7 separate regions of the Homo sapiens genome follow, and all the other regions are linked to region 1. The links are contacts of gene promoters, found by promoter capture Hi-C in blood cells and fetal thymus (Javierre and others, 2016). All regions are on one chromosome and are shown on one strand. Each heading gives the region's core, a stretch centred on a gene start or on the middle of the fragment in contact. The rest is flanking DNA. Distances are from core to core; before and after follow the strand shown.

Region 1 (2,753 bases), core at 72-2,571:
GGAGTATAGGCACCCGCCACCACGCCCGGTTAATTTATTCTATTTTTAGTAGAGACTGGGTTTCACCGTGTTAGCCAGGATGGTCTCGATCTCCTGACCTCGTAATCTGCCCGCCTCGGCCTCCCAAAGTGCTGGGATTACAGGCATGAGCCACTATGCCCGGCCAGAAGTTTTTGCTTTTAATTGCCCAGGGCCACTCCTAAGAAATAACAGTCTCTGAAGGGTAGATAAGGTAGTGCTACCAAGAGAAGCGTTACTCAGCAAGCCTTCAAAAATATAAAAATAACTTACTGTTTCTGAAAGTTTGCAAGTTTTTCTTATTCAACCCCATCCTATGGAAATATACCAGTTGGAATAAGCAACTACAGAACCACATAGGACGGCACTACTAGAAAAATAGATTAAATCTTTATCCTGGCAATGAGTCTAATACATTTATCATTGCTGTGAATTTTAAAAGGTGTAGCAGGCCGGGCGCGGTGAGTCACCGCGCCAGGCCCGATCATAAACACTTTTAAAGTGAAGAGGCTTTCCGCTTCCTCAACATAAGGAGTAAATCTTTAATGCTGCTTCTAGGAAAAAAAGTACAAGAAAAGCAAGACTTCCTCCTTGCCTTCTCTTTAAAAAGCAACAGCCGATGAACACGTGTTGGAGCGCTCTCGCCTTGACAGAATTAGAGATCTTCAGAATCACTTGGCGTGGTGGTCGAAGCGTCTAGCCCTAGCTCATTAGGGTGCCACAGTTTCTCGGCCCACAAGTCAGCTTTTAACCACTTTTCTCCGCAAAAGACCGGACCGGTCTTCATGCGTCAACTAAAGCAAGCGTCTGGTCCCGTGTGTGAAACGTGTAAGTTCATGGCATCAGGGAATACCCATCGCGCGTACCGTAATAGAAGAGGGCGAGGTTCCTCACCTAACCCATAATGCTCAGCTCGCCTTTCCGGAAGCAAGGACTATCACCCCGACAATACCTTCATCCGGGCGGAAGCGTCTCACCCTGAGTCTGATTTGGCAGTGACGAAGCGAGGTATTGTGGGACTTTGTCCGTCTCCCAGTACGCATGTGCCTCAGCCGGCCTCTCCCGGCTCCTGGGGCCACGTCCGGGCGGTGGCGCCGTCGAGAGATGCTCGTCAGCGAAACTGGCCAATCCCCTGCAGGCGCAAGCGCAGTGGCTCGGGCGCACCGGAAGCGCAGGGGGATGGGGCGGCGGTGACGCGATTCTGTCCGCGTTGGAGGGGCCGGGCCGCTGCTGGAGTCGCCGCGGCCGCCGCGTGACGTGGCACAGCCAGAGCCTAAAGGCTAGAGCCGGAGCTGCCGCGCCAGTCGCCTAGCAGGTCCTCTACCGGCTTATTCCTGTGCCGGATCTTCATCGGCACAGGGGCCACTGAGACGTTTCTGCCTCCCTCTTTCTTCCTCCGCTCTTTCTCTTCCCTCTCGTTTAGTTTGCCTGGGAGCTTGAAAGGAGAAAGCACGGGGTCGCCCCAAACCCCTTCTGCTTCTGCCCATCACAAGTGCCACTACCGCCATGGGCCTCACTATCTCCTCCCTCTTCTCCCGACTATTTGGCAAGAAGCAGATGCGCATTTTGATGGGTGAGTGAGGGGCTGCGAGTCAGGCGGGACCTGGGAAAGGCAGGGTCTCCACAATTGGGGTGGCCTCTGGGCCTGTTTTTTTCCTCCGCCCGCTGTGGTGGGGGAGGGGCGCCGGGTCGGGGGTCGGAAGGAATTCTTAAGGGGGAACAATGGAGCGGAGGGTGAGCGATCCCCCCCGCCCCCGATCTGTCGCCAGACGAGACAGGGACAGGGCTTCGGGCAAGATTTCTTTCTGGACTCGGCTTTTTCTCCTTGATCTTATTGAAAGCTGGACAACATTGGGCAGAGATGTGGGGAAAGCCAACTCTGGGAAGCAAACACTTGGCGAGGCCCTTTCTGGGGGTGCGATCTGCATACCTTCTTGCCCGGGTGTGGACAGCGGTCAGGAGGGAGGCAGAGCAACTCCAGCCTTTTCCCTCCCCTTCTGCGTTTCGTGTACAGTCCCTGCATACTCCATTGGTATGTAAGCCAGCGGCCACCCGGAGCCTGGAGCCGCCCGGGGCAGGAAGTTGCGGTGGCCAGGGAGCACCCAAGGTTTCCGAAGAGTCTGGAGTCCTTCAGCGCTCACTTTGCTAAACTTGGCCTTGCGCTGGATTCCGTTTCAAGTTTTTCGCTCCTTGTTAATCTCATTCTCCGAAAACTGAGCTTATCTTCTATTTCTTTGACTATTTTCAAAAACTTTAAATGTGTTTGGTTTATTCTCCTAGGTTTTTAAGCTTATTTTTAGGCGGTCTAAGGTCTAATGCAAAAAAATTTTAGAAACGAATTTTTAAAAAATACCTGATAAATTTTCAAGTAACTGAACATCATGACGCTGAATTTTATGGTAGTCTTGTTAAATAGTAACTACAATTTTTTTAAAATTTCTTTTTAGAAAGTTGACTTTTTAAAAACTACTTTTTAGGGGGCGTGTTTTTGCTCAGCTGAGGGAGAAGGGCTGTCAGTTGGCTGAAGTAAGCAACCGCTCCCGGTTACTGTAAGCAGTCTACATCACAGCTGAGCTCCATGGACTAGAATAACGCTGAAAGAAGCCCCTCTAACTTTGAACGTTGAAACTTGTTGGTTCATTAGCTTGTTTTCTACCGGAGGAGGTTTTATTTTTCTCTTCCTTTTTTTTTTTTGCAGACGGAGTTTTGCTCTTGTCACCCAGGCTGGAGTGCAG
Region 2 (2,753 bases), core at 91-2,590, 500 kb after region 1:
TCAGTTTCTCTGTCCTGTGCTCTCTACCACCTGTTGCTTCCTTGAGGATATCCTATGTAGGGTGTGACTTGGGCAAGGTGCCAAAAGCACTGCGCTTCTGTCCCCTCACTTGTAGGGCAGGAGTGGTAATGACTCCATGTGATACAAAAATGGATGGATGGCAAGTTTTTGCAGAGGGACTAGGGTGTGACCATCACCCACGGAACTTTAGCTGTTCCTTGGTATGGTGTAACCTGGAGCCTGCACATAGCTGTGCTAATAAGGGTTAAGGGGCAGATGAGATGGCCTCCTTCTGACATTTCCCTTCCTGTTACTCACTTCCCGAGCCTCTTCCCGAGCCTTCTGTATGGGTGAGGTGCCTTGTTCTCTTTCCAGGTGGCTCTGGACCTGTGGGAAGACTTCAGCCTCTGTAGAGAAGGGCAGAGAGAATGGGTCATCCAGAAGATCCACGAGTCCCAGTTCATCATTGTGGTTTGTTCCAAAGGTATGAAGTACTTTGTGGACAAGAAGAACTACAAACACAAAGGAGGTGGCCGAGGCTCGGGGAAAGGAGAGCTCTTCCTGGTGGCGGTGTCAGCCATTGCCGAAAAGCTCCGCCAGGCCAAGCAGAGTTCGTCCGCGGCGCTCAGCAAGTTTATCGCCGTCTACTTTGATTATTCCTGCGAGGGAGACGTCCCCGGTATCCTAGACCTGAGTACCAAGTACAGACTCATGGACAATCTTCCTCAGCTCTGTTCCCACTTGCACTCCCGAGACCACGGCCTCCAGGAGCCGGGGCAGCACACGCGACAGGGCAGCAGAAGGAACTACTTCCGGAGCAAGTCAGGCCGGTCCCTATACGTCGCCATTTGCAACATGCACCAGTTTATTGACGAGGAGCCCGACTGGTTCGAAAAGCAGTTCGTTCCCTTCCATCCTCCTCCACTGCGCTACCGGGAGCCAGTCTTGGAGAAATTTGATTCGGGCTTGGTTTTAAATGATGTCATGTGCAAACCAGGGCCTGAGAGTGACTTCTGCCTAAAGGTAGAGGCGGCTGTTCTTGGGGCAACCGGACCAGCCGACTCCCAGCACGAGAGTCAGCATGGGGGCCTGGACCAAGACGGGGAGGCCCGGCCTGCCCTTGACGGTAGCGCCGCCCTGCAACCCCTGCTGCACACGGTGAAAGCCGGCAGCCCCTCGGACATGCCGCGGGACTCAGGCATCTATGACTCGTCTGTGCCCTCATCCGAGCTGTCTCTGCCACTGATGGAAGGACTCTCGACGGACCAGACAGAAACGTCTTCCCTGACGGAGAGCGTGTCCTCCTCTTCAGGCCTGGGTAAGGTGCCTTTGGGGCCGGGTCCTAACAGGCCGCAGCCTTTGACCATGCTTCTGAAATCAGTCAAAGCGTTTTTCCACTTTTGGTGCCAACTTATTGGGCAATGAAACCTGATGAGAACACAGCTCGTTTGGTAGTCTTGATTTATACCAGGTGATGGGAGTACTCACATGTTTGAGTTGCAGAAATACTAATGCTAAATTATAGTGAGCTGCCCAGACCCTGCAAGGGGTGTTGTGCCACATACAGACTATGCACTGTATCACTTTTCTAAACTCCAAAAACATCAGACACGAAAACACATTGGGCCCCAAGGGTCTTGGGTAACAGTTTGTGGATGCGTCTTTTTTAGACCTGTAATGTTCACACCCCCCGCCCCCATTGTCTTTAAAGCTACATTCATTGAGTCTGGGATTCATGGGTACAGTATTCTTTCTATCCTTCAGCATAGGGTCCCAGGTATGAGGGCTCTCTAGGAAGGCCTACTTCTGCAGGGAGCATCAGGTAGATGCCATCTCAGGCTGTCCCTTACCATGTCTGTAACTAGTTGGAGTCATGCATACAAACCCTTGACTTTTTTTTTTTTTTTTTGAGATGGAGTCTCACCCTGTCGCCCAGGCTGCAATGGCATGATCTCAGCTCACTGCAACCTCTGCCTCCTGGGTTCAAGCGATTCTTCTGCCCAGCCTCCCGAATAGCTGGGATTACAAGCATGCGCCACCATGCCCAGCTAAATTTTTGTATCTTTAGTAGAGATTGGGTTTCACCATGTTGGCCAGGCTGGTCTCAAACTCCTGACCTCAAGTGATCCCTCAACCTCGGCCTCCCAAAGTGCTGGGATTACAGGCGTGAGCCACTGCGCCCGGCCTAAACGCTTGACTTTTAAGAAATATCTCTTCCTTCCTCAACTAAGGGAACTAGAACCTGTTAGGAGGATGAGAGTGCCCCATCTTGAGTTGGTTGGGATTCTTGCCTCGTTTATACAGAGCCCATAGTCCAAACCCAGATCCAGTCACATTCTGCCATGAGCACCTGCCCAGCCCAGTGAAATGCAATGACAGTGTGACTCTGTACTCTCTTCTCTCCTTAGGTGAGGAGGAACCTCCTGCCCTTCCTTCCAAGCTCCTCTCTTCTGGGTCATGCAAAGCAGATCTTGGTTGCCGCAGCTACACTGATGAACTCCACGCGGTCGCCCCTTTGTAACAAAACGAAAGAGTCTAAGCATTGCCACTTTAGCTGCTGCCTCCCTCTGATTCCCCAGCTCATCTCCCTGGTTGCATGGCCCACTTGGAGCTGAGGTCTCATACAAGGATATTTGGAGTGAAATGCTGGCCAGTACTTGTTCTCCCTTGCCCCAACCCTTTACCGGATATCTTGACAAACTCTCCAATTTTCTAAAATGATATGGAGCTCTGAAAGGCATGTCCATAAGGTC
Region 3 (2,753 bases), core at 91-2,590, 470 kb after region 1:
ACAGTGTCTTGCTCTGTCACCCAGTCTGGAGTGTGGTGGTGTGATCTCGGCTCACTACGGTCACAACCTCCTTGGCTCAAGCGATCCCCCTGCCTCAGCCTCCCAAGTAGCTGGGACCACAGGTGTGTACCACCATGTCTGGCTAATATTTTTGTACTTTTTGTAGAATGGGTTTCACCGTTTTGCCCAGGCTGGTCTTAAACTCCTGAGCTCAAGCAATCCGCTGGCCTCCGCCTCCCAAAATGCTGGGATTACAGGTGTGAGCCACCATGGCTGGCCTGAATTTTGTTTTTAATCACCGAAGTAAAACCACTCTCTATTATTCAACAGACGTAGCTTTAAGCTATCAAGCTATTGAGTGGAGCTGGACTATAAGGCAGGTGAGAGGTCTGGGGGCTTCAGGGGTCCAGAAGCCTCCTGAAAATACCATGTGCCAATGTGTGTGCACACATGCACCACAGTTCTCCCCCAAATAAAAAGCTGTGAGTCTTGGTAATGAGGGGTAAATGAGAGCAAAGTGATTTTGGCCTTGGTGGTGATAGTATTGCCAAGAGAGGGATGACGGTAGGATTGCAGCTGTATAGCAACTCACACTCACCCCGTTTTCAGATCTCACCAGTGTTTTTCTGAAGGCCTCAGGATATCACTCAAACCTTCAAAGTCCTTGCATCTTGAGGCCAAACTTTGTACTTCAGTCCATGAACACATGAACAGAGTGCACCTGTGGTTGATGGGCATTGGGCTGGGTGTGGCACAGCCTGGGACTCCTGTTGGCTGAATACTTTCACCTTTCTTTGTTTCACCCTTCTTAAGGCAGGACGGTGGTATTTTGTAACCAGTGGGCACTCAGCGAGTGTGAGTTGCATGCTTATACTGAAAGGTTCTAGGAAATCAGGTTTGGAGGCTCTTTCTGTAGAAAGGCAGTGCTGCTCGCCCAACATTGAGACTTGATATTTCTCCCAAGTAACTGGGATTCCCACAGCTTGGGGAGAATCAAGACAGTTGAGAGTGGTGGGCTGGAGGAACAGCTGAGGTAGGAGGGGGTGGGGGAGGGGAAGCTTGTTCACATGCTTGTTAACATTTAAGGGTCTTTGACAAAGGAAGTCTAATGCCTTGCCCCGGTCAGCCGGTGATTGCCCCCCGGGAGGCCCCGTTGTGCACAGGAAGTCAGACACTAATGATGTTAGCGAGGGGACAAAGGCGCCTGGCCTGGGAAGGGTCTAATTGCTGTGTCCGGCTCCCAGGCGGCTGGCCTCAAGCTGGTGGGGGCTGGGCAGGATGCGCTAAGTGTTAACACCTGGAGCCGGCACTGCTGACTTCCTGGTGCTTTTTTGTTGTTGTTGTTGGCTTTGTGGCTGGGCACACATACTGACAACACACACACTCAAAGGCATTCAGAAACCCTGACTGCATCTCAGGGGGATGTTTCAGGACTTGCTATCTAAGAGACTAGATGGAAATGGTTTGATCAGGAGGTAACACCGTGAGTGTCACCCCTGGGCCGGGCAGGGCCGTGAAACAGGAGGCTTTACTCCTGTTTCTCCTCCCATCTGCCCGTCAGAGCTTGGTGACTGTGGCTTCACCTCTGGGCTGACTACTTCCCTCTCCCCCAGAAAGCTTCTGGGAAAGGCCAGACCTTGCAGAGAGAGGCAGATACTTATTAGAAGGGTCACTCTGGCTTTAGCTTAGAACATTCTAGTCAGAATGAATGGGAGAATATTCACTCCTGGAGGACAGAGAGAACCAGCTGGGGTCACCCAAGGGTGGTTATGGTATATGTGTGGATATTTTATATATTGCTATTTGAATTCACACCTGGAGAGGTAGTTGGAGGGTCTGCATCCCAGGGAACTGGCAAAGCCAAGATGCACCCTTTGATTTCTGAGTGGGGTCTTGGGATTTTTTGTGTCTAAACATGGCTTTGGACCTGGGGGCCTGTGAACCCCTCAGAGGCCCTTGGGTGGCCTTCATGAGCTCTGGGAACCTCCCAAAATTGTGTATGAAAAGTTTCTGGGGGAAATTGGGTAAGGATTATTTTTCACAGGATTCTCCAAAGGTTCTAGTAAACTTTTCCTCTTAACAAAAACAGGGTCATCAGTAATTAAAAGCAAATACACCCTGCCTTGGCCAGTAGCCCTGCAGGGTGGGATTAGAGGTTCAGTTCAGCAAGGGTAAGGCTACCTGGAGCCTGAGGTGGGCTACTAATGGCAGGCAGTTTTGAGCACAGGTTGACTCACTTGGATTTTTGCAGCTAGAGAACAGGGGCATTTAAAAGGATGCTTGAAGCCTGTCTCCTTCCTAGAGAAAGTGGGGGAAAGCCACACATTTTGAAAAAGGGCCTAATGCTGACTTACTGCTTCCCACTGTTATTTTAAGGTTTTTCTGTCCGAGACCACCATGTGGACAGACTTAATCGGCTGACAGAAGGGGTTGCCTTGCTTTCTAGCATGTCCTGTAATATTTCCATTAACACTGAAACCTAAAATGATGGCCTTCCATAATTTCCAAATATGCGAAATCCACCTTGAAGGAAATGTGCGTGGGGCTTGCCGGGGACCTGTTGGGGTGGAGGAGGCTGGGTCCCCATGGCAACGTCACAATCCCCCATTTCTATAGGCATTTGTGCTGTAAAAGCAGAATTCCAGATGTGGCTTAGTATTTGGAGACTCAGTCCCTGTGCCTCGGAAACAGTGGTATTTGAAGTCAGCACAATTCGGTGCACCTCTCTGTGTGGTCCTAAGGCTTTTCATTAG
Region 4 (2,753 bases), core at 123-2,622, 430 kb after region 1:
AATCATTGAATCAATGTGTCAAGGTAAGTGTGTTAGGGTATTTTTGAATCACTGATTCTAACAGATGTCCCTTAGCATGGGGTTGTTTAATAAGTTATAAAGCATGTATAGGCTGGAATGTCACATAGATTAAGGAGCTGGTCGCCTCATTGTTTCCTCCCTGTTTCACCAAAACCCATATGGTCCTGGCCTCATCTCAGCCCCTGGCACCCCTGACTCTCATGGCCAAACGCTGGACATCCTTGCTGTGGGGGCTGAGAACAACCCAGGGACAGTACCAAGAATGTGAGGGAGGGTAGGGAGGCACTGAACCAGCAGCTCCTCCAAAGGAGTGATGTGCTTCCTGAGGTCTATTCACAGAAGGCTACTCCAGAACAGCCTTCTGTGGATCCTAGCTATTCTGGTGTCTGAAGAGGGTATGGTAAACCTCACTGGGTCTGGCTGAATTCCTGAATTCCAGGCAGTGAGGTAAAAAAAAAAAAAATTCTGCCCAGCATCTGGGTCTTGAGGTGGATGCTGTTGTTTGGGGAACCCAGCACCCATTCTCCCTCTCCCTGGCAATAATGTCAGTGTTCCTTTGGGCAAGCACTGTTTCACACTTCCAGCCCCTGAAGTTCAGGTGAGGCTGGCTCTACTCCTTGGTTCTAGATGTAGCTACTTCCAAGCAAATCCCCAAGACTTCTGCTAGCATTACCAAGAAGAGTTCTCTTCCTCCACTTAAGCCCTCCAAGGACGTGTGGGCAGGGTGGTGGAGACACAAGCCACAAGAGAAAGTGCAGGAATCCTGTGTTAGCAGTGGCTGAGCTTAGGCCAGGCCAGAGAAGGAGAGGGAGGGGATTCTGGGCCCTGGAAGGAGAGTCATATAGAGGAGGCTGCCCTGTTGAATGGACGGAGGTGACAATTTCCAAGGTTTCCTGAGGCAAAAAGACCAAGATAAGGCTGGGGCTGGGGGGAGTTCTGTGCAGCAGGAGCCAGGTGGTAAAGACAGAGTGGAAGAGAAAGCCAGTATGGATTTTATTCTAAATGGCCTTTGCATAAGAGCCACCATAGAACAGTTTTATTTATTGATTTTATTTTTATTAATCCTCCTCCAAACACAGAACACATAATTTTACTGTTTTTTTTTGTTGGTGGTGGTGGTGGTAGGTTTGTTTGTTTGTTTGTTTGTTTGTTTGTTTTTAGAGACAGGGTCTTACTGTGTCACTCAGGCTTCAGTGCGGTTGGCAGGATCATAGCTCACTGTTACCTCTAACTCCTGAACTCAAGCGATCCTCTAGGATTGGCCACTGCACTCAGCCTAGAGTTTTAATTGGGATAAGTCAGTAGTCTGATTTGTGTTTTTGGAAGATAACTTTGGATCCAGGCTGGAGAAATGTATCGGACACGGGGACAAAGTCAGAAGTAGAAAAAGCCCTTAGGAAGAGGAGGTGGTATTCTTGAGGAAGGGGGTAGTGGAGAGGGACAAAGTGGGAGAGTTTAGGTGCTCAGATAAAAGGCAAAGCGCTGGGAAGAGTGCGGTGAAACTCTGGATAGCTTGGGCTACTCCACTTCTCTGAGCCTCAGTTTCCTCTTCCAAACAGAAATAATATCCACTTCATGAGGTTATGTTTGACAAGTGTAGTAGCTGAGAGTATTGTTTTTAGTCAGGTCTGGATTGGATCTCAGGTCTGGCAGGTAACAGCTGTGTGACCTTATGAGAGTCAGTTAATGATAGATTGTAGCCTTTATGGAGCACTTGTTATGTTTCAACCAACAGAACTCTCCCCAGACTAGGATACTTATTCTAGCTTCCAGGAGGGTGAGGGGGACGGGGGGTTGTGGTGAGGAAGTATTGTGGAGACAGCAAGCCTTTTGTCCAAAGTCCTACTAGTAAATGTGGAGCCAGGATTTCTCTGTCACGTTCCCCTAACTTTTCTGCGCCTAAAACTGGGATAACAATAATACACTTCCTTGTGTGGTTGGGCGTATACAGAAAGGGGTCTGGCACATAGCAGGTGTTTATTAAATTATTATTAAAATTATTATTATTACATTCTTTGTGTTTTCCTCAGGTTTTGCATAGAGTGAGCATCACTTGGACAAATCCTTTGGATTAAAAAAAGATCTACTAAGTGAGGGGGAAGAAACTGCGGCTGCCAGAGTCTCAGTGGGGGCTTGGGGGGCGTGACCAGAGGGGCGTGGTCTACGGGGGCAGGGCCACAACTGGAGGGCCAGGCTGTGGGGGCGGGGCCAGCACACGAGGACTGAGGGTGGGGGCGGGGCCCGGGCTGGCAACGCATGCCCAGTGCGGTCCCCTTCGCTGCCGCCGCGGCCGCCGCGGCCACCGCCCACTCGGGGCTGGCCAGCGGCGGGCGGCCGGGGCGCAGAGAACGGCCTGGCTGGGCGAGCGCACGGCCATGGCCCCGTGGCTGCAGCTCTGCTCCGTCTTCTTTACGGTCAACGCCTGCCTCAACGGCTCGCAGCTGGCTGTGGCCGCTGGCGGGTCCGGCCGCGCGCGGGGCGCCGACACCTGTGGCTGGAGGGTAAGGCGAGGGCGGCGGGTTTCTTGCCGTCGCCAACTCGCGGGGGACGCAGCGCGCACAGGTGCTCGCGGGGAGGCGAGCCCGCGCCAACCTGTCTGCTCTTCGCGGGGTCCGCGGCCGGCCTGGGTCTCACTCCTCCCGCGCATCCTCCTGGTTTCCCTCCCCGGACGCGTGTCCTCCGGCCCTGGCCGAGATGAAAGCGGCTGCCCGACCCCGGCTTTGTGTTGCTAA
Region 5 (2,753 bases), core at 176-2,675, 400 kb after region 1:
AGAGCTAGAGTTTAGGACTTTAATTTAATTTATTATTATTATTTATTATTTTTTTTTTTTTTCTGAGACAGAGTGTTGGTCTTGTTGCCAAGACTGGAGTGCAATGGCATAATCTTGGCTCACTGCAGCCTCCGCCTCCTGGGTTCAAACGATTCTCCTGCCTCAGCCTGCCAAGTAGCTGGGATTACAGGCATGCACCACCATGGCCTGCTAATTTTTGTATTTTTTAGTAGAGGGGGGTTTCACCCTGTTGGTCAGGCTAGTCTCGAACTCCTGACCTCAGGTGATCCGCCTGCCTCAGCCTCCCAAAGTGTTAGGATTACAGGCATGACCCACCACGCCCAGCCAGAGTCTAGGACTTTTAATGCCTCCAACTGAGTCCTATGGGAAATTAAAAGAATATCAGCTTTGGATTGAGCAAAGTGGATAAATTCACTCACAGGAAATCCCAAGAACCTGCATTTACTTCAGAAGATCTCTCCCTGTTTGACACATCAGATATTTGAAATCTCTTTTCACTGAAAAATAAACGACATTCAGAGACCAAAGAGGCAGGATTACCAAGACAGGATCTTCATTTTTTATTGGTTTTTGGTTAACGGGGTGCAATTCTCTTGTGAACCCCAGAATTCCACTAGGAAATGAAAGATGAGTTCCTGAAACTACCTCTATAGAACTTTGTGGAACATAAGATTGACCATCTAAGACAGGGCTTATTTTTTTGTTTTTAGGGAAAGATGGTAACTTATGTCTACATGTCCCAAATCCTCCCAGTGGGATTTCATTCCCTAGCGTGGTGGATCACCCAATGCCAGAAGAAAGAGCTTCGAAATATGAAAATTACTTTTCAGCCTCAGAAAGACTGTCTTTGAAAAGAGAGTTGAGTTGGTATAGAGGCCGAAGACCAAGAACTGCTTTTACTCAAAACCAGGTGGGAAGTTTTTTCACCCAATAATGATAATATAAAGGCTTTAATTGACACCAAGTTGAGCAAAAGCCCACTCACTTTGGTATCTCAGTTTAGAAGCCTTATTAATGAAACAGTAGACTACCATATTTTAACAATTTCCAGGTAATCATTTTTAAAAAGGCATCCAGATTAATTGCCAAGATTTAAATGTAGTCATTTTACTCTAGAAATTAAAGCTCATTTTTGGAGACATACTGAATATCAACATTTTTTTTTCTTAGATTGAAGTGTTAGAAAATGTCTTTAGAGTAAACTGCTATCCTGGTATCGATATTAGAGAAGACTTAGCTCAAAAATTGAATCTAGAGGAAGACAGAATCCAGGTAATTTTCAAATTTAGTTGTTATTCATGATGTTGAAATGTTAAGAATAATAAAATAATGTTTCTGAGACCTATTTTATTTTTCCTTAACTTTAGATTTGGTTTCAAAATCGGCGTGCAAAACTGAAAAGGTCCCATAGAGAATCACAGTTTCTAATGGCGAAAAAAAATTTCAACACAAATCTGCTGGAATAGATAGAAAACTAAACAAGTGAAATTATCTTCTAATTGCAGAGCATGAAGAATCAGTGGAAATATTAAGTGTTAAAATGTGATGTTTTCTTTCCTGCATTTAATCTGAATATTGTCATTTTTTCTGAAAATATATTGTAAATACTATTATAGCATGGTACATATTTGGGCACTTTTAGTTATAGTAAAGACCTTTTATATATATTTTAATAAACATTTTCAGAAAAGATTGCTATTTTTTAAGTAAGCCAAATTAATCTAATAAATTAGTTTGTTAAAATCAATAGACTCATGACTAAGTGATTCCACAAGCTGGATTCTAATTATAAAGTATTTCAAGTAAAATAATCTGAAGAACAAAAGTGTGAGTTGTTTTCATTAGTTTCTTCCATGCACATTTTGAAACATAATTATGCTTCACTATATTATAAATTATGATTTATTCATGAATCTTCAACTTCTCTTGATTTATAGCATAAAGCAGTGAGAATTTCTCACCATTTATCAGAACAAATTCTTACAGTATGTTAGTTTCAAGTTTTTTTTCCAAGCAAAGTCATTATGCCAAAGTAGAAATATACAAGCATCAGCTATCATATTTATACCATTGGTATTGAATTGCACAAAAGAAGTAAGCAGCAAATAAATGCAAAATTTTAAATAGTTTTCTAGTTTAATTTTGTACTTTACTTTCATTCATTAGTGATAGTGATCATGTAGCTTATATCTATTTCCAGTTTAAATGATTTCTAATCAACTGCAATATTAAGTTGACTGAGAAGGTAGGATAACTGACCCACCTTTTGTAAGTGCTCTGACATAGTCACTGGAAATAATCAAGGTGCTTTCTAAGTAACAAAAACTATGTGTTTTCATTTCCCATTTTCCCATTTTACCTGCCAATTAAAGATGGGGGGCTGGGCGCGGTGGCTCACGCCTGTAATCCCAACACTTTGGGAGGCCGAGGCGGGCGTATCACGAGGTCAGGAGATCGAGAACACGGTGAAACCCCGTCTCTACTAAAAAAATACAAAAAATTAGCTGGGCGCGGTGGCGGGCGCCTGTAGTCGCAGCTACTCCGGAGGCTGAGGAAGGAGAATGACGTGAACCCGGGAGGCGGAGCTTGCCGTGAGCCGAGATCGCGCCACTGCACTCCAGCCTGGGCGACAGAGCGAGACTCCGTCTCAAAAAAAAAAAAAAAAAAAAAAAAGATGAGAATAGGATAAGATATATAACAAGAAGGGAGCCCTCTCGGCTGGAAATCTGGGC
Region 6 (2,753 bases), core at 111-2,610, 350 kb after region 1:
CATTTGGTATTGTCTTACATGATACACAATATACAAAAATAACAATAGTTTTCTTACTTCCTAGCATTAAGGTATCCAGCCTTTCGGGTTAAATTTCGATTAACAGGAAATTTGGTGGGGTCTGGGTCAGGCACATATAAGGGATCACTGGCTACTTCCAAATCCTCTATTGTCTGTTGCATGGTCTCTATATCACTGTCCATTTCCCTGCGAACACTGACACAGAACAGATTATTTGCTACAAATCACAACCAATAAAGAACTCCTTACCAATCATGTTTACCTGCATATTTGTTTCGGGTATGTTTTCTTAAAGAGAGGAAGAGCGGCATGGGTGGTTAAAACAACACGAATATATTTTAAAACAGGTTTACAGTTTATTTGAAACTTAGATATTTTGGAAACAATACTAAATTCAAAAAACAAATGAAGCCCCCCGAATGCCTGATTTTGGCGTAATTTTCAAACTGTTCTGCCCTGTGCCTTTAAAACAACAATCACTTTCATCTCTCTCCATACCGTGGACTGACCACATACACTGCTCGGCATTTTGAACCTGATAAGAACTGCTTTCTCTCTAAGCTTTCATGGCTTGGAAACAATATTTAGTAATCTCCCATCAAACTCCCACAATTTCAAGTTTAAAGATAATTTCACTTATGGGGAGTTACTATTATGTGTCTGTTATATTCAGACATAAAACTGAGTGTAGAATCAATAAAATTATCACTATTATGAAATTCAAAGTTCACAATCTGTGGAAAAAAGAGGTTAAAAAAAAACAAGAAGTAACCATGAACCACATAAGAAACTCTCATGGCAGGGAAAATATTCCCTCAGGAAAGTAAATGATAAATATCTTTACATTATGTCATTGAGCTGTTATCATTCACATCATTTCATTTTCAATTTTAAGGAAAAAAATACTTACTTCTGAACGCTTGTTCCAATATTAGCTAAAAATTCTTCCAGTTGTTCATTAAGATTTTCAGAACCCATCTTAAAGAAACTTATCTGGAGAGTGGGGAGTGGGGGGAATTGAACAATACAAAAATAGATTAAGCAATACTTAAAGTAAATCATATAAACAATCTCTAAGACACATGGTTAAGTAAAAAACAAAGGAATATTCCCATTTGTGTAAAAATACATTGTAGTTTGTGACTTCTACTGCACAGGGAGCCATTAAGGAAGTTAGACTTAAATTCCACTGCATATCCTTTTATATTTTTTGAATTGGAACAAGTAATATATACATATGGTTAACAATCTTTTAAAATTGGAAAATAAATTTTAAAGTATTTCCAATAAATTATATAAAGTATTTCATGTTTACTACAAAGATAAGTTTTCTATCTGAGGAATAATCAGTAAAGTACTCTTTTACCTAAATAGATTCAATTTTTTTTTTTTTTTTTGAGACAGGGTCTCGTCTGTCATCCAGACTGCACAATAAAACCTCACTGCAGCCTCAGCCTCCTAGGCTCAAGGGATCCTTCCATTTCAGCCTCCCAAGTTGCTGGGATCACCGAGGCATGCTACCAAGCCCAGCTAATTTTTTCATTTTTTGTAGAGATGGGGTCTCCCTACGTTGCTGAGGCTAGTCTCAAACTCCTGGACTCAAATGATCCTCCTACCTCGGCCTACCAAAGTGCTCGATTATAGGCATAAGGCACCGTGCCTGCCCTCAATTTTCTTTAAACTCTTGATTTTTAGGAGACTGACACTTTGTCTTATACTACCCAAATTTTCTAGCCCCCTTCCTGATGTACTCTTTGGGCACGTTGGAGTTCATCTATTATTTTTAACTCAGGAAGTATGCAAGGAATATGGGATAAACTCAAACTTGTTTATTCTTTTTCAGATCTATTATGAAGCAAGTGTTTAGTTGAAGCTCTAGCAATAGGTGTAACTCTGAAATTCATTTAGTTCTCTCAGTCCCCAGCTATGGTGAACAAGTGGTTTCATTTACCTAAAATATTTGAAATCTTCATTTGCAAGGAAAACCATTCTTCCTAACTTCCTTAAAATAATAGTCTGATGACATTTTAAAAATAACTTCTTAAAACACAGACATAAACAAGGATGTTGAAAATAGTTTATAATACCCTTATACTTAATGTAAATATCAAGCTTAATATAAAACTTTTAGGACAGTTATAATCCAAATACAGTACAGTATTTACCTGAGCTTGCATGTACCCAAGTAGAGGTTCTAACAATGCTATTTTCTTCTTGTACTGAAGAGTATTTAATGCACAAAAATAATGCATCATGGTCTGGTGTTGTTTCTTTCTGGATGTGTACACATCTTCTGTTACTTCATACTTCACCTTTGAATGAAAAGATTTAAATAATTAAGTAAATAATCTGCTATTATTTACTTAATTTTGTATTATCTTCAGTAGGAGCTGTGGAGAAGAGCCTACCCAAGGAATTGAGTATCACAAGCAATTGAGCATTAATGTTCCTGTTTTCTGATCTTTTAGAAATCCTTCAACATACTGGTTAAGCAAATTTTCCTGTTTAACTTCCAACCACATAATTTACAAAATGCACATTGAGCCCAGGCGTGGTGGCTCATGCCTGTAATCCCAGCACTTTGGGAGGCCGAGGCGGGACGATCACTTGAGGTCAGGAGTTTAAGAACAGCCTGGCCAACATGGTGAAACCGACTCTATTAAAAATGGAAAAAAAAATTAGCCAGGTGCAGTGGTACACACCTATAATTCCAGCTACTGGGGAGGCCGAGG
Region 7 (2,753 bases), core at 84-2,583, 270 kb before region 1:
AAACCCACCTCCTAACTCTACCAGTTTGATTGCTGCCCAAGAACTATTATGATATCCCTTGATACATGGAAAAAATATTTTGTCTTTTCTTTTCTTTTCTTTTCTTTTTTAAAGACAGGGCCTTGCTCGTCACCCAGGCTGGAGTGCAGTGGCACAATTATGGCTCACTGCTGCCTCAACCTCCTGGGCTCAGCTGACCCTCCCACCTCAGCCTCCCACGTAGTTGGGACTACAGGCGCACACCACAATGCCTGGCTAAGGGAAAAAATATTTAATAAGTTCTGGGTATCAACTCTGATATCTTCGACTAACTTCTGTAGAAAACTGAGATGAAAGGCACATAGATTGGTAAACACAGAAAAGAGTTTAATTTCTACTGTACTCCAAGCACCTAGCGCAGGGTCTGGCACATAGTTGGTGCTCAATTAATGTTAGATGGAAGGGGAGAGAAGGAGAATGACTAGGGATCTTCAAGACTGAAGGATAATAGAGGTCACTGGGTAAAAAGTACCCCGTGTAGTGACAGGAAAACCAATAGTGGCTATATGTTTTTGGCAAGAGAGAACCCACGCTGTCCAGAAAGAAGGGTCACAGAACCAACAACTAATAAAAGATTTTTCTGATGGCAGAAAAAACTGACCCTGTTCTCTCTGATCAATGAAACAGATGGATAAACAAAGTAGTTTCTATGATATGTCCAAGGGCTCAATAAGCTGTTAAATAAACTCGAATGTTTTAAATGGGGGTCAAGTATCACTGGAGGCAGAACTTGATGAAACAAAATGGTAGTACAGCTCTTCGAAAAACAGAGTGGGGAAAAAGATCTATATTATATATTGCTAAAGGTGAACTTAATAATTTTCTGATTTGAGTAATTGAAATTTCCATATAACAAGGGATATCTAAGAATTGATCACAGCATCAACTCTTACAAAATAAAGGAAAGCTTGATTTTTAAATGATGGGGTTCAATGATCTGTGAGAGCATGCTTTTCATTCCAAACACTTAAAACCCTGAACTCCTTATCCTGCTTAAATACTAAAATGATATCATAAAAAGTATATATATATTTAAGTTTTTTACACTACCTTTTTCTGTGCTCCCATTTATTTTAGGTAAGAAGTCATCAACTTGTATCCCTAGGATTAAGACAGTATATCATTGCCTGATCAAAGAAGTATTACTTTAAATGTGGTCTCAAGTGTAACCATGGCATTCTGCATTCCTAAGATTAAGATTGTATAGAACACTTTAAAAGGGATCCTGCTGTTCATGTACTTTTCTTATTTAAATATCCCGAGGTAGAAGATCTCAGAGCAGAAATTTCACTCATCTCAAGGAAAACAATGGTGCCCACTGGTGGCAATCAAGCATATTTTTAAAGAAAATTTTCTAAAAGAATATAGATACTTTATACCTAATACATAAAACATCCCTTAAAAAATGCAGTGTGAGACAGTAAACAAGGTCAAAAGTTTAAGGATAAAATTCAGGTTTAAGTAAGAAATATGGATGCCACCTACCCAAGCTGCTGCATTCTTTAAGAGTTTTCTCCTGAAGATGTTCTAACCGTACTGTAAATAAAAGTCCAAAAAAAAAAAAGATATTTCACAGATAACAAGAAAAAAAATAAAATAAAATCAATTTCTGGATTAGCTACTTACCTTGTAAAGCTGTTAGCCTTTCATTGGTGAAATCATTATCAGCTTGCAAAGCTTCTATTTTTGCCTGGAGCTCCTGTTCTTTTTCTTCCATTTCATCTATTTTATGTTGTAATTCTTTTTTCTCAGCCTGTCCCTTCTGTTGGATTTCCTCTTGTTTTCCCTCTGCTACCTAGAAAAATAAGAAAATTCAGTTATTTAACAAACCTAACTCTGTTTTAAGAGCGAGCCCCAGGAATGCCTTTATTCACTTAAACTTCTAAGAAAAGTTTGTTCTGTAGAAAAGAAATGTTCTACAGAACATTATCTGTAAACCTGACATTTCTTTCTTTCTTTTTTTTTTTGAGATGGAGTTTCACTCTTGTTGCCTAGGCAACCTCCGCCTCCCGGGTTCGAGTGATTCTCCTGCCTCAGCCTCCCAAGTAGCTGGGATTACAGGCATGCGCCACCATACCCAGCTAATTTTGTATTTTTAGAAGAGACGGGGTTTCTCCATGTTGGTCAGGCTGGTCTCGAACGCCTGACCTCAGATGATCAGCCCACCTTGGCCTCCCAAAGTGCTGGGATTACAGGCATGAGCCACTGCGCCCGGCTAACCTGACATTTCTAAACCAGTAAAGATGATAAAGACAAAGGCTTGATGTCAAAAATTATCTGCATTGGGTTATTCCTCCATAACACCCAGGAGAGAGAAACTTGGAGGAAGCAAGTAGGCTCAGTACACACAGAGGTAAAGGGTCAATGTGGAAAAAAAAATCGTATTTTTAAAGAGGGAAGTAAGATTTTTCCCTAAAATTACTATCATTTCAATTTTGAAGTTCTATCATGTTAACATTCTGAAATTTTAAACAAAATTATTTAGTAACGAGATGACAGTACAATCACTATTCAAAAAGACCTCTCTGCCTATAGTTTGGATGTTCGTCCCCCAAGCCTCAATGTTGAAATTTGATCCTCAGTGTTGGAGATGGGGTCTAATGAGAGGTGTTTGGGTTATGGGAGCAGATCCCTCATGAATGGCTTGGTGCTGTCCTCATGGTAATGAGTGAATTCTCACTCTATTAGTCCTATGAAAGCTGGTTTTTAAAAAG

The links. The method cuts DNA at HindIII sites, captures the fragments that hold promoters and counts their contacts. A CHiCAGO score of 5 or more calls a contact.
Region 2: a contact is called between a fragment that was not itself captured here and the fragment with the promoter of ARF4 in region 1, in 2 of 17 cell types (endothelial precursors and M1 macrophages). The highest score is 5.8, in endothelial precursors.
Region 3: a contact is called between a fragment that was not itself captured here and the fragment with the promoter of ARF4 in region 1, in 1 of 17 cell types (fetal thymus). The highest score is 5.0, in fetal thymus.
Region 4: a contact is called between a fragment that was not itself captured here and the fragment with the promoter of ARF4 in region 1, in 1 of 17 cell types (megakaryocytes). The highest score is 5.2, in megakaryocytes.
Region 5: a contact is called between a fragment that was not itself captured here and the fragment with the promoter of ARF4 in region 1, in 1 of 17 cell types (naive B cells). The highest score is 5.4, in naive B cells.
Region 6: a fragment that was not itself captured here is called in contact with the fragment with the promoter of ARF4 in region 1 in 1 of 17 cell types (naive B cells); the score reaches 5.1 in naive B cells.
Region 7: a fragment that was not itself captured here is called in contact with the fragment with the promoter of ARF4 in region 1 in 2 of 17 cell types (erythroblasts and endothelial precursors); the score reaches 6.9 in erythroblasts.

What each region holds. Positions count from the first base shown.
Region 1 is chr3:57,595,912-57,598,664 of GRCh38, reverse strand. ARF4 (ARF GTPase 4) reads left to right here and starts at 1,321. Exons shown (of 6, transcript NM_001660.4): 1 at 1,321-1,591. The coding sequence starts at 1,525. It overlaps ARF4-AS1 (ARF4 antisense RNA 1), which reads right to left and starts at 876. Exons shown (of 2, transcript NR_132370.1): 1 at 614-876. It also overlaps a transcript of PDE12 not described here. RefSeq lists enhancers at 298-1,003, 518-1,077, 1,098-1,347, 1,358-1,427, 1,618-1,667 and 4 more. The HindIII fragment of the contact is 2,548 bases long and covers 1-2,309 here.
Region 2 is chr3:57,096,161-57,098,913 of GRCh38, reverse strand. It overlaps IL17RD (interleukin 17 receptor D), which reads left to right. Exons shown (of 13, transcript NM_017563.5): 12 at 376-1,318; 13 at 2,409-2,753. The coding sequence ends at 2,521. Among named protein-coding and RNA genes, the nearest start is that of SPATA12, 37 kb to the right of the region's middle. RefSeq lists an enhancer at 499-1,698. The HindIII fragment of the contact is 3,437 bases long and covers 1-2,753 here.
Region 3 is chr3:57,129,430-57,132,182 of GRCh38, reverse strand. All of the region lies in intron 1 of IL17RD (interleukin 17 receptor D), which reads left to right. Among named protein-coding and RNA genes, the nearest start is that of IL17RD, 35 kb to the left of the region's middle. RefSeq lists enhancers at 283-1,109, 1,110-1,935, 1,936-2,753 and a silencer at 2,508-2,753. The HindIII fragment of the contact is 559 bases long and covers 1,061-1,619 here.
Region 4 is chr3:57,164,930-57,167,682 of GRCh38, reverse strand. It overlaps IL17RD (interleukin 17 receptor D), which reads left to right and starts at 2,330. Exons shown (of 13, transcript NM_017563.5): 1 at 2,330-2,522. The coding sequence starts at 2,397. RefSeq lists silencers at 2,142-2,191, 2,212-2,551. The HindIII fragment of the contact is 4,210 bases long and covers 1-2,753 here.
Region 5 is chr3:57,196,931-57,199,683 of GRCh38, reverse strand. It overlaps HESX1 (HESX homeobox 1), which reads left to right. Exons shown (of 4, transcript NM_003865.3): 2 at 732-931; 3 at 1,192-1,293; 4 at 1,389-1,846. The coding sequence ends at 1,487. Among named protein-coding and RNA genes, the nearest start is that of HESX1, 1.7 kb to the left of the region's middle. RefSeq lists an enhancer at 1-13. The HindIII fragment of the contact is 4,065 bases long and covers 1-2,753 here.
Region 6 is chr3:57,245,656-57,248,408 of GRCh38, reverse strand. APPL1 (adaptor protein, phosphotyrosine interacting with PH domain and leucine zipper 1) reads right to left here. Exons shown (of 22, transcript NM_012096.3): 8 at 2,187-2,333; 9 at 932-1,014; 10 at 58-216. Among named protein-coding and RNA genes, the nearest start is that of APPL1, 19 kb to the right of the region's middle. The HindIII fragment of the contact is 1,551 bases long and covers 585-2,135 here.
Region 7 is chr3:57,863,629-57,866,381 of GRCh38, reverse strand. It overlaps SLMAP (sarcolemma associated protein), which reads right to left. Exons shown (of 25, transcript NM_001377540.1): 11 at 1,666-1,834; 12 at 1,525-1,575; 13 at 1,090-1,140. Among named protein-coding and RNA genes, the nearest start is that of SLMAP, 110 kb to the right of the region's middle. The HindIII fragment of the contact is 770 bases long and covers 949-1,718 here.